3 separate regions of the Homo sapiens genome follow, and all the other regions are linked to region 2. The links are contacts of gene promoters, found by promoter capture Hi-C in blood cells and fetal thymus (Javierre and others, 2016). All regions are on one chromosome and are shown on one strand. Each heading gives the region's core, a stretch centred on a gene start or on the middle of the fragment in contact. The rest is flanking DNA. Distances are from core to core; before and after follow the strand shown.

Region 1 (2,700 bases), core at 180-2,679, 71 kb after region 2:
GCAGCAACCCCGCAGGAAGGCAGTGAGATGAAAAGCCAGGTATGGACCCCTGTGGCAGGGAAGTGTCCAATGTCATCATTAGGTCAGAGAATTGCACCTCCTTGCTATTCAGCTATTTTAATGACATTTTTTCCCACTTGATTTCTTCTCCTTGCTATAAGGTAATTCAGTGTGGAATGAAACCCAGAGACCGGAATCTGATTTGAACAGAGGTTTTATTGTAAGCGGTATTTGTGTTCTTTATTCTCTTTATTTTTATTTTATTGTTTTTAATTTATGTTTACAGTCAACACAATAAGCCCAGTTTTTGTGTTCTTTAAAGTGTAAGTTTTTTTCACATATTGTTCAATGTTGTAAATGTTTTATATTTATGAAAACTACAGTTTTTAGTCATAACCTTTCAAGCCTCCTTGGGAAACAGCTGCACTATTCTTTTAGACCACACGAGGGCAATGGTGTCACGTGTAAAAGATGCTCGCCTGCTGCTTTCTGAACAGATGGCACATTTGTTAGACTTCATTGGATGTATTTTTCCTTTATTGAAGCACAGGGGAATTTCGCATTTGCAGGTAGAATGGGGAAAGACAGTTAAAATTTTATACCGTATTTTTATCTCTTTGTTTATGCTGATAAAGGTAGCAAAGGCAGTTGATTTTTTCTCTTTTTTGCTGTTTTGAGGGATTGGTGTGCTAACAAGTTGAGGTCAGCATTCATTACCACAGTGACCCTGGCAGAAGATGCTCTGTTGATTTTGCATTTCATTGAAAATGTCACAGAGATAATACATAAACCCGTCTTTCCCCCCCAAACCCTCCAATACCCTTTCGATATGATTCTCATCCTGTTGTTCCTATTGGATTATCTTTGTGATTAATGTTTCTCCACGCCCATTAAGTAGGGAGACTACAGCCAGCTTTCTCTGAGGATACCTTGTGTGACCTTACTTACTCCGCGGTCACAGAAACTCTGAAGTGTTCCTTTCACGGATGGGCTTGGTCCTGCTGGGTTCCTAATGTCCCCCAGTCTCTCTGGGTTCTGGAGGTCTTCACTCAGAACTAACCAGCTCACTCTTCCTAAGGCAGAATAATGCAGAGGTTTCACCCAAAAGTAGGCAGTACTAGCATCTTTTCTATGGGAATATTTGGTTTGCCATGTTATATTGGCCTGTCCATTTTAAAAAAAATTAGTTTTCAACGCTTAAATGCAAAGACTTCTCATTAAAGATCTAGGTTTCTTGCTTTTCTTGAAACATCGGACAGCATGGTATTTCTAGCCTGAACAGCCCCTGGTGACAATCGGCAGAGCCACCTTTGTGGCTTTATGCAGTCACTGCACACACAGATCTTCCCTTTTGTTTTCCTGACACTAAGGGAGGTGCCCTTTTTAACCACGTTTGTACTCTTTTCGTTGTAATAAAAAGGAAAATGAGAATTTAATACCCATGCCCGTCTCAAAGGAAAAAAAAAAATAGAAAGGTATAGTAGGAGAGCCACATGTCTCAAGAAAAAAAAATGATCCTAAATCTAGACCTCCCTGCTGTAGCACTTAGAGTAATTGCCTGGCCTTGCGGGCATTCGATTTTCAGCACCTGGGAGAGCTTCGTCTTTAAAAGTGGGCTGGCCTGGGGTTGTCCTTGGTTAAACCCCAAGGACACTTGAGAGTCCAGTCATCTTTTATCCTGATGGTTCAATGGGGACAACCTCATTTAATCTTACAACAGCCTGCGAGGTAGTCACTGTCCTATATGGGTACACTGCTTAGCGCCATACCGGGCACGCGTTCAGAGGTCGACCACGCCCTGACTTTTCCTTAGCTTTATTTTGGAAGCAGTGGGTTTTAAGGCTGGTGCTCCTCGGAGCCTCCTAACCATCACTCGTTTGGCAAGTTGCAGATACACTGCCTGACTAAGCTGGGAGAAAGAAAGGGTTAAAGAAGGAGAGCGGGAGGGGAAAACCCTTTGGATCGTGGGCTCTGACCCAGACGCGTCTCCATGCCCGCTCTGCAGCCTCGCGGTGGCAGCTGAGCTGCACGTAGCTGGAGGAGGCTGCAGGAACAGACAGGAAATCCATTCTTGTTCTGCAGATACGTCGGCAAAACTCCCAAAGCAAACAGCAGAGGAAGTTTGCTTTAGTGGAGACAAACTCACAACTTTGCTCTTTCAAAGCCTCTGTTTACAAGTCAAAGCCCAGGCTCAGTCGGGCTTTCTTCCCACACTCACCTCCAGAGGTGCTGCCTGCGGGCGTTTCGCTATCAAAGACCCGCAGCGCCGCGGCCGGTCCGGGATAAGCCGGTGGCTGCGGCTCCAATGCGGAACCGGTTCTCTAGCCGCTAAGGAGCCAGGGCTGCTCACCCCAGGCCCCCTGAGGTTCAAATTTGGGAAACGGAGAGATGGGGCGCGGGGGAAGCCCTTAGATCTAGTGAGCCCTAGAGTTGAGCATCACGCGCAGAATGAGGTGACTCAAAAAGGAAATTGGCAGGTGCTGGCCTTGGGTAATTTCCCAGTGCCCAAAAGTGCTAAACCACGCTGCTCAAAGAATAGAAGCCACCAAAATATCTGAGTGGTGGTGCTGGCTCTGTCACCTGAACTGTGTCCAGTGTTATACCTGAATTGGGTGTATCTGTTAGCTTAAAATAAGATAATACTGTAATAGCTAGAGTCTGGAATAAAAATAAGTTATCTAACGGTGAAGTTTGGTGACT
Region 2 (2,700 bases), core at 5-2,504:
TGTACTCCTGCTGTCCACACCCAGCATTATGGCTTGTGGGTCAGATAACACCCAGCTCATGATGGGCAGCTCAGGTCGCATGGTAACTTAATTGACCACGGTAAGCATTCAGTCCCTACTGAAGCCCAGCAGTAGGCCCAGAGCTGTTTCTCAAAAGAGTAGTTATCTGCATAGGATAACAGGTCTTTCTTCAAAATACTAAGGGTCTGCACTGAGATTCATCTATGTGGGCCTGCCAAAGGTTCCAACAGCATCTCTATCTGCCACTGACACTTCAAATACCACTGGATCTGCAAGTTCATATGTCCCAAGCAACAAAGCCGCTTACACAATAGCCTGGACCTATTGCAGAACCTTTCCTATTCTGAGTCCTACTCCAAACTAGCAGCTTTTCAAGTCACTCAGTAAATGGGCCAGAGTAACAAACTCAAATGAGGAAACGTCTTCAAAATCCAAAGAGGCCTGCCGCATGTCATGCCTCTTCTGGTTGTAGGAGGGGGCAGATGCAAAAACTTACCTTAGAAGGGGTATCTCAACATGCCTCATACCACTGGACCCCTAGAAATTTTACTGAGACATGAAAAAGCCTTTGAATTTTTGTTGGATTTACTTCCCACTTCTGACATGCAAATGTCTTACCAATAGGTCTGGAGTAGTTGCTATGTCTCACTCATTAGGTCCAGTGAGCATAATGTCGTCAATGTAATGGACCAATGTGATGTGGAAAGAAAAGGCAATCAAGATTCCTGTGAACAAAATTAGGACAGGGCTGGTGAGTTGATATGCCCTGAGGTAGGACATGAAGGTGCATTTCTAGCCTTGCTAGCTAAAAGCAAACTGCTTCTGGTCGGCCTTATAGACAGGGATGGAGAGAAAGGCATTTGCCAGATCATACCAGGTAGCTGCATACCAGGAACCAGGAGTTGTGTTAATTTGCTCAAGCAATACATCTGGTACTGTAGCTGCAATTGGAGTCACCACCTAGTTAAGTTTGTGATAATCCATCTGTCTTCTGCCCAGGCTAAATAGGCGAGTTGAATGGACATATGGTAGGAATCACCACCCCGCCTTCCTTCAAGTACTTATGGTGGCACTAATCTCTTCAGTCCCTATAGGAATTGAGCATTGCTTTTGGTTTACTATTTTCCTAAGTACAGATAGTTCTAGTGGCTTCTACTTGGCCTTTTCCACCATAATAGCCCTCACTCCATAGGTAAGGAAACCAATGTGTGGATTATTCTGTCAGCTGCTGACTGTATTCTAATTATACATTCTAGAACTAGGGGATAACCACAGGATAGGTTCAGGAATTCACTGGGCCCATTGTGAGATGGAACTAAGCTAAAACTCTGCTGATCACCTGACCTCCATAAGCTGCTACCCTGACAGTAGCACTTTGGATCTCCTGAAATTAGTGTCACTTCAGAGAGCCAGTGTCCACTAGTTCACAAAAGATCTGATTATTCCCTTTTTCTAATGCACAGTTACGTTGGTAAAGGTTGTACATCCCTTTGCGGAGGACTAGGAGAAAGACTAACAGTATAAACATTTGGTTATGGACCAGGGTCCCTTTGAGGTCCTCCCCTTCAATCAAAGGGTTTTGGGCTCTATAAAGTGGCTCAAGTTTGGGAATTAAGGGACCACGATTCTGTTTTTATGATTCGAGTTCAACTTTCGTCACTTGACTTAGAAGTTTTCTGCTTATACAGATCAAGTTAAGACTTCAGTAGGCTTCCTATCTATTTCACGTCTAGGAAAACCATGATCAACTAGCCAAAGCATAGGTCTACAAGTGAGATTATTCTAATTGTTCCTTTGGCTCTGTCATTATGATAACCACTTCACCTTGCCTTTGGTGGTTGAGTCCCATTACTTGACCCTTGCCACCCTGGGATCCTTTACTTCCATTATATTTAGGTTTTCCAGTTCAGTGACTGCAGTGAGCTCTGGCCTACAGAGAAGAGCCATCACAGAGTTCTGAAAAAGATGCTGGAGCTCTCCTCGCAAATTTCTTTCTCATAGTATTGGTGAAAGGTATGCTTTCTTGACCTTCCCAGTGTGGATGAGTAGTTCTTTTTTTTTTTTTTTTTTTGAGACGGAGTCTCGCTCTGTCGCCCAGGCCGGACTGCGGACTGCAGTGGCGCAATCTCTGCTCACTGCAAGCTCCGCTTCCCGGGTTCACGCCATTCTCCTGCCTCAGCCTCCCGAGTAGCTGGGACTACAGGCGCCCGCCACCGCGCCCGGCTAATTTTTTGTATTTTTAGTAGAGACGGGGTTTCACCTTGTTAGCCAGGATGGTCTCGATCTCCTGACCTCATGATCCACCCGAGATGAGTAGTTCTTAAGTGAAAAATCTAATTTCCCAATATTCCTAAACCTTTTAATCCCATCCTCTAGATTAAACCAAGGCATGTCCAGCACTTCCAATTCATCTTTTCCATGTTTTAGTAAGCCAATCAAACTGTGAGCACCCTTTCTAACTCCCCAAGCTGCAATGTTAAATGCAGAATCTTGGCTTAGTGAGCCCATGTCAATAAATTTGACCTGATCCAACTTTATGTTCCTTCCATCATTTTCCAACACCTTTATTATCCATTCCGACATATGTTCCCAGATTTTTGTCTGTATAAATTAGAGACTTTGAGTAACTCTTTGGAGTATAGCACATCTCTTCATAGGTAACACTTTGTTCCTGTCTAG
Region 3 (2,700 bases), core at 112-2,611, 81 kb before region 2:
CCCAGCTAATTTTTGTATTGTTAGTAGATGGGGATTCACCATGTTGGTCAGGCTGCTCTCAAACTCCTGACCTCAGGCGATCCACCTGCCTCGGCCTCCCAAAATGCTGGTATTACCGGCAGGAGCCACCACGCCTAGCCACTCATAGCATCTCTTAATAGAGAACTCTGTAAAATAAGATATTGAAAATGAAAATAAGATAAATACGTATTTTTAACCCAAACAAGATCTTGTCAGGCTACTTACTTTGAAACACATGATCTTCTTCAGTACTTGCCCCTAATGGCAGTAGTCTTAGTAAAGATTTAATTTTACAGGAAAAATGTTCCTTCTCAGCCCCCAAGCCAAATGTCCTCATCATCCTACCCTCAGAAACTCTATCCACACTTTGCCCAAGCCCCCGGAACTCACCAGTCTGGATTTGATCCGTCTCCAAGACCAAGCGGGGTGGTGCTCACACACCCCTGATCCTCCATCTGTGAAAGCAGAGACCAGAGAAGCATTTGATCTGCCTAAGACATCAGAGACAAGTTCAGTGGGCGCTCTCTGAGCCATTTCCTAAAAGTAGAGCCTGGGCTTCTGGTCCAATCTAGGGAGAGAGCACATGGTCCTCCAGACTTTGCTGACCTTATACTGGTCTATATGGTCTAGGTTCATCAAAGTGTTACTTTTGCCCCCTCTTCAAATTGTGCTGTTTAAACTTCTATTTCTCCATCTTCATCACTATCATGTCCCCTTGGGGTTGGAATCTCAAGAAGCCAACATATTGAAATGTTCAGAGCAATAAATGGTCTCCATAATCTTTGCAGTGAATACATCAACTCTATTTTGCTATCCCAATAAGCTTTTAAATATCCTAGTTTCATATGAATTTACATCAGGCCATAATGAGGCAATGGGACAACATTTAAACCACATATAGACTAAGTGGCGTTTAACTCACCAACTCAAGTGTGGAAGAAATTTCACATTATTTCCTTTAAACCTACTTTTCTCATTATGTCCTTCTGTAGACTTCCATGGGAATCTGGGGAGCTTATAAATACTTGAAAAAGTCAACAAGAGTTATTTAATCTTCAGCCCATTGTGATTGCTGCCACTATCCTCACTGTCTGATTCTGCAGGGCCCCTTGAAGTGGGCGGCTCCACCGCAGCCATGACACTGGGGCGCAAGGCACCTTGCCAAGCCGACCTAGGTTTCAGGCTTCTGGAGTTGAGCACTCCATTGGCAGTTTCTTCTGCAGCTTTGCCATTCTCTAGGTAAGGGCTAGGGCTGCTGCCAAGATTCCATCACGTCATAGTGCTATTGTATCATGGCCTCTTACCACTCTAGGAGAGGGGCTGGAGCATCCCTAATTATGCAGGTGAAAGCCCCTCTCAGGCAATCTGAAGTCTGGCTTTGCTAGAACTCTGTGCTGGCCTAGAATAAACAGGCCAAAGGTGCCCACGTGCCTGCTACCCCTACAGTCTGAAACTTCTCCAGTGAACACTGCTGTTTCAGGTCTGACAATCTGTGCCCCCTGGTCATTTGCCCTTATTTGTACATCAGATGCCCTATCCCAGAAAAGGAGATGATGAATCTCTGGAGTATGAATCACTTCATTATTTTATATCATTTTTTAAAATTATCTGATACTCTAAAGCCACGCAAAAAGATTAAGGGCATATTTGAACTACCTTTTAACAAGGCATGCTGAATATATGGTTGATTGTCACACGGTTCAATAAAAATTCACTAAAGCAATAGTGAAATAAATGTAAAAAGTCTAAATTCAAAATGTAAAGAGAATGGGAGAGGAGACAATGAAGAAGAAATTAACATGTTTTTTTGAGACTGAAAGTTGATATAGGAATGGTAACTGATTTACCAGAGCTGAGAAAGCTTAAAACATGACTTCAGGAAAGGTTTCCAAAAAAGAAATCCTATTCAGGAAAGAAAGAAAAAAAGGAAGGAAGGAAGGAAGGAAGGAAGGGAGGAAGGGAGGAAAGGAGAAAGGGGGAAGGGAGGAAGAGGGGAAGGGAGGGAAGGAGGGAGGGAAGGAGGAAGGAAGGAAAGAGGGGAGGGAGGGAGGGAAGGAAGGGAGGGAGGGAGGGAAAGAAAGGGAGAAAAAGAAGGAAGGAAAGAAGGAAGAGATGGAGGGAAGGTGAGACGGGAAGGAGGGAGGAGAGAGAAGCTCACAGAAATTGAAGGCTCCAGGTAACCTAGAAGATAGACTGAAATGTATGTGATCAGTTGATAATCTGTATAAGGAGCAGTTAAGCTCTCAGATCCCCATGCCCTCATCACAGCCAAGCAACTGCTCTTCCCTAACCCCCACAGCATACTGCAGTGCTTGTTCTCAAAGGACACTGCAGCAGAGAGACCCTAGACTCTGGAACACCTGGCACCCAGAAAGCAGGAGAAGGCATCCAACTAAAGACAGGTTCTGAGAATGCCAGCTCCCTTCCCTACCTCACTCTCAAAACACTTTCAAATAAATTTAATTTTAAGAAAATATCTGCTGACAGAATATCAGAGGATCCCTTGGTGGAGAAAATAAATGCCCCCCAAGAAGCTCTATATATAATTTTTGTGAAATAGTTTTGTGAATAGATCTCTCAGTTGTCTAATCATCAATATGCCGGAGATGATGATGCCCAGTCACTTTGGCATGATTGACGTTTTGGACCATAGAATTCCTTGTTGCTGAGGCTGTCTTG

What was found. The method cuts DNA at HindIII sites, captures the fragments that hold promoters and counts their contacts. A CHiCAGO score of 5 or more calls a contact.
Region 1: a contact is called between a fragment that was not itself captured here and the fragment with the promoter of HMMR-AS1 in region 2, in 2 of 17 cell types (non-activated CD4 T cells and activated CD4 T cells). The highest score is 6.0, in non-activated CD4 T cells.
Region 3: a contact is called between a fragment that was not itself captured here and the fragment with the promoter of HMMR-AS1 in region 2, in 4 of 17 cell types (total CD8 T cells, non-activated CD4 T cells, total CD4 T cells and 1 more). The highest score is 7.3, in total CD8 T cells.

What each region holds. Positions count from the first base shown.
Region 1 is chr5:163,564,060-163,566,759 of GRCh38, forward strand. No RefSeq gene overlaps it. Among named protein-coding and RNA genes, the nearest start is that of MAT2B, 60 kb to the left of the region's middle. The HindIII fragment of the contact is 4,254 bases long and covers 1-2,700 here.
Region 2 is chr5:163,492,804-163,495,503 of GRCh38, forward strand. It overlaps HMMR-AS1 (HMMR antisense RNA 1), which reads right to left and starts at 1,255. Exons shown (of 4, transcript NR_109892.1): 1 at 896-1,255; 2 at 640-746. The HindIII fragment of the contact is 5,178 bases long and covers 1-2,700 here.
Region 3 is chr5:163,411,908-163,414,607 of GRCh38, forward strand. LOC105377700 (a long non-coding RNA gene) reads right to left here and starts at 1,647. Exons shown (of 4, transcript XR_002956233.2): 1 at 412-1,647. The HindIII fragment of the contact is 1,038 bases long and covers 843-1,880 here.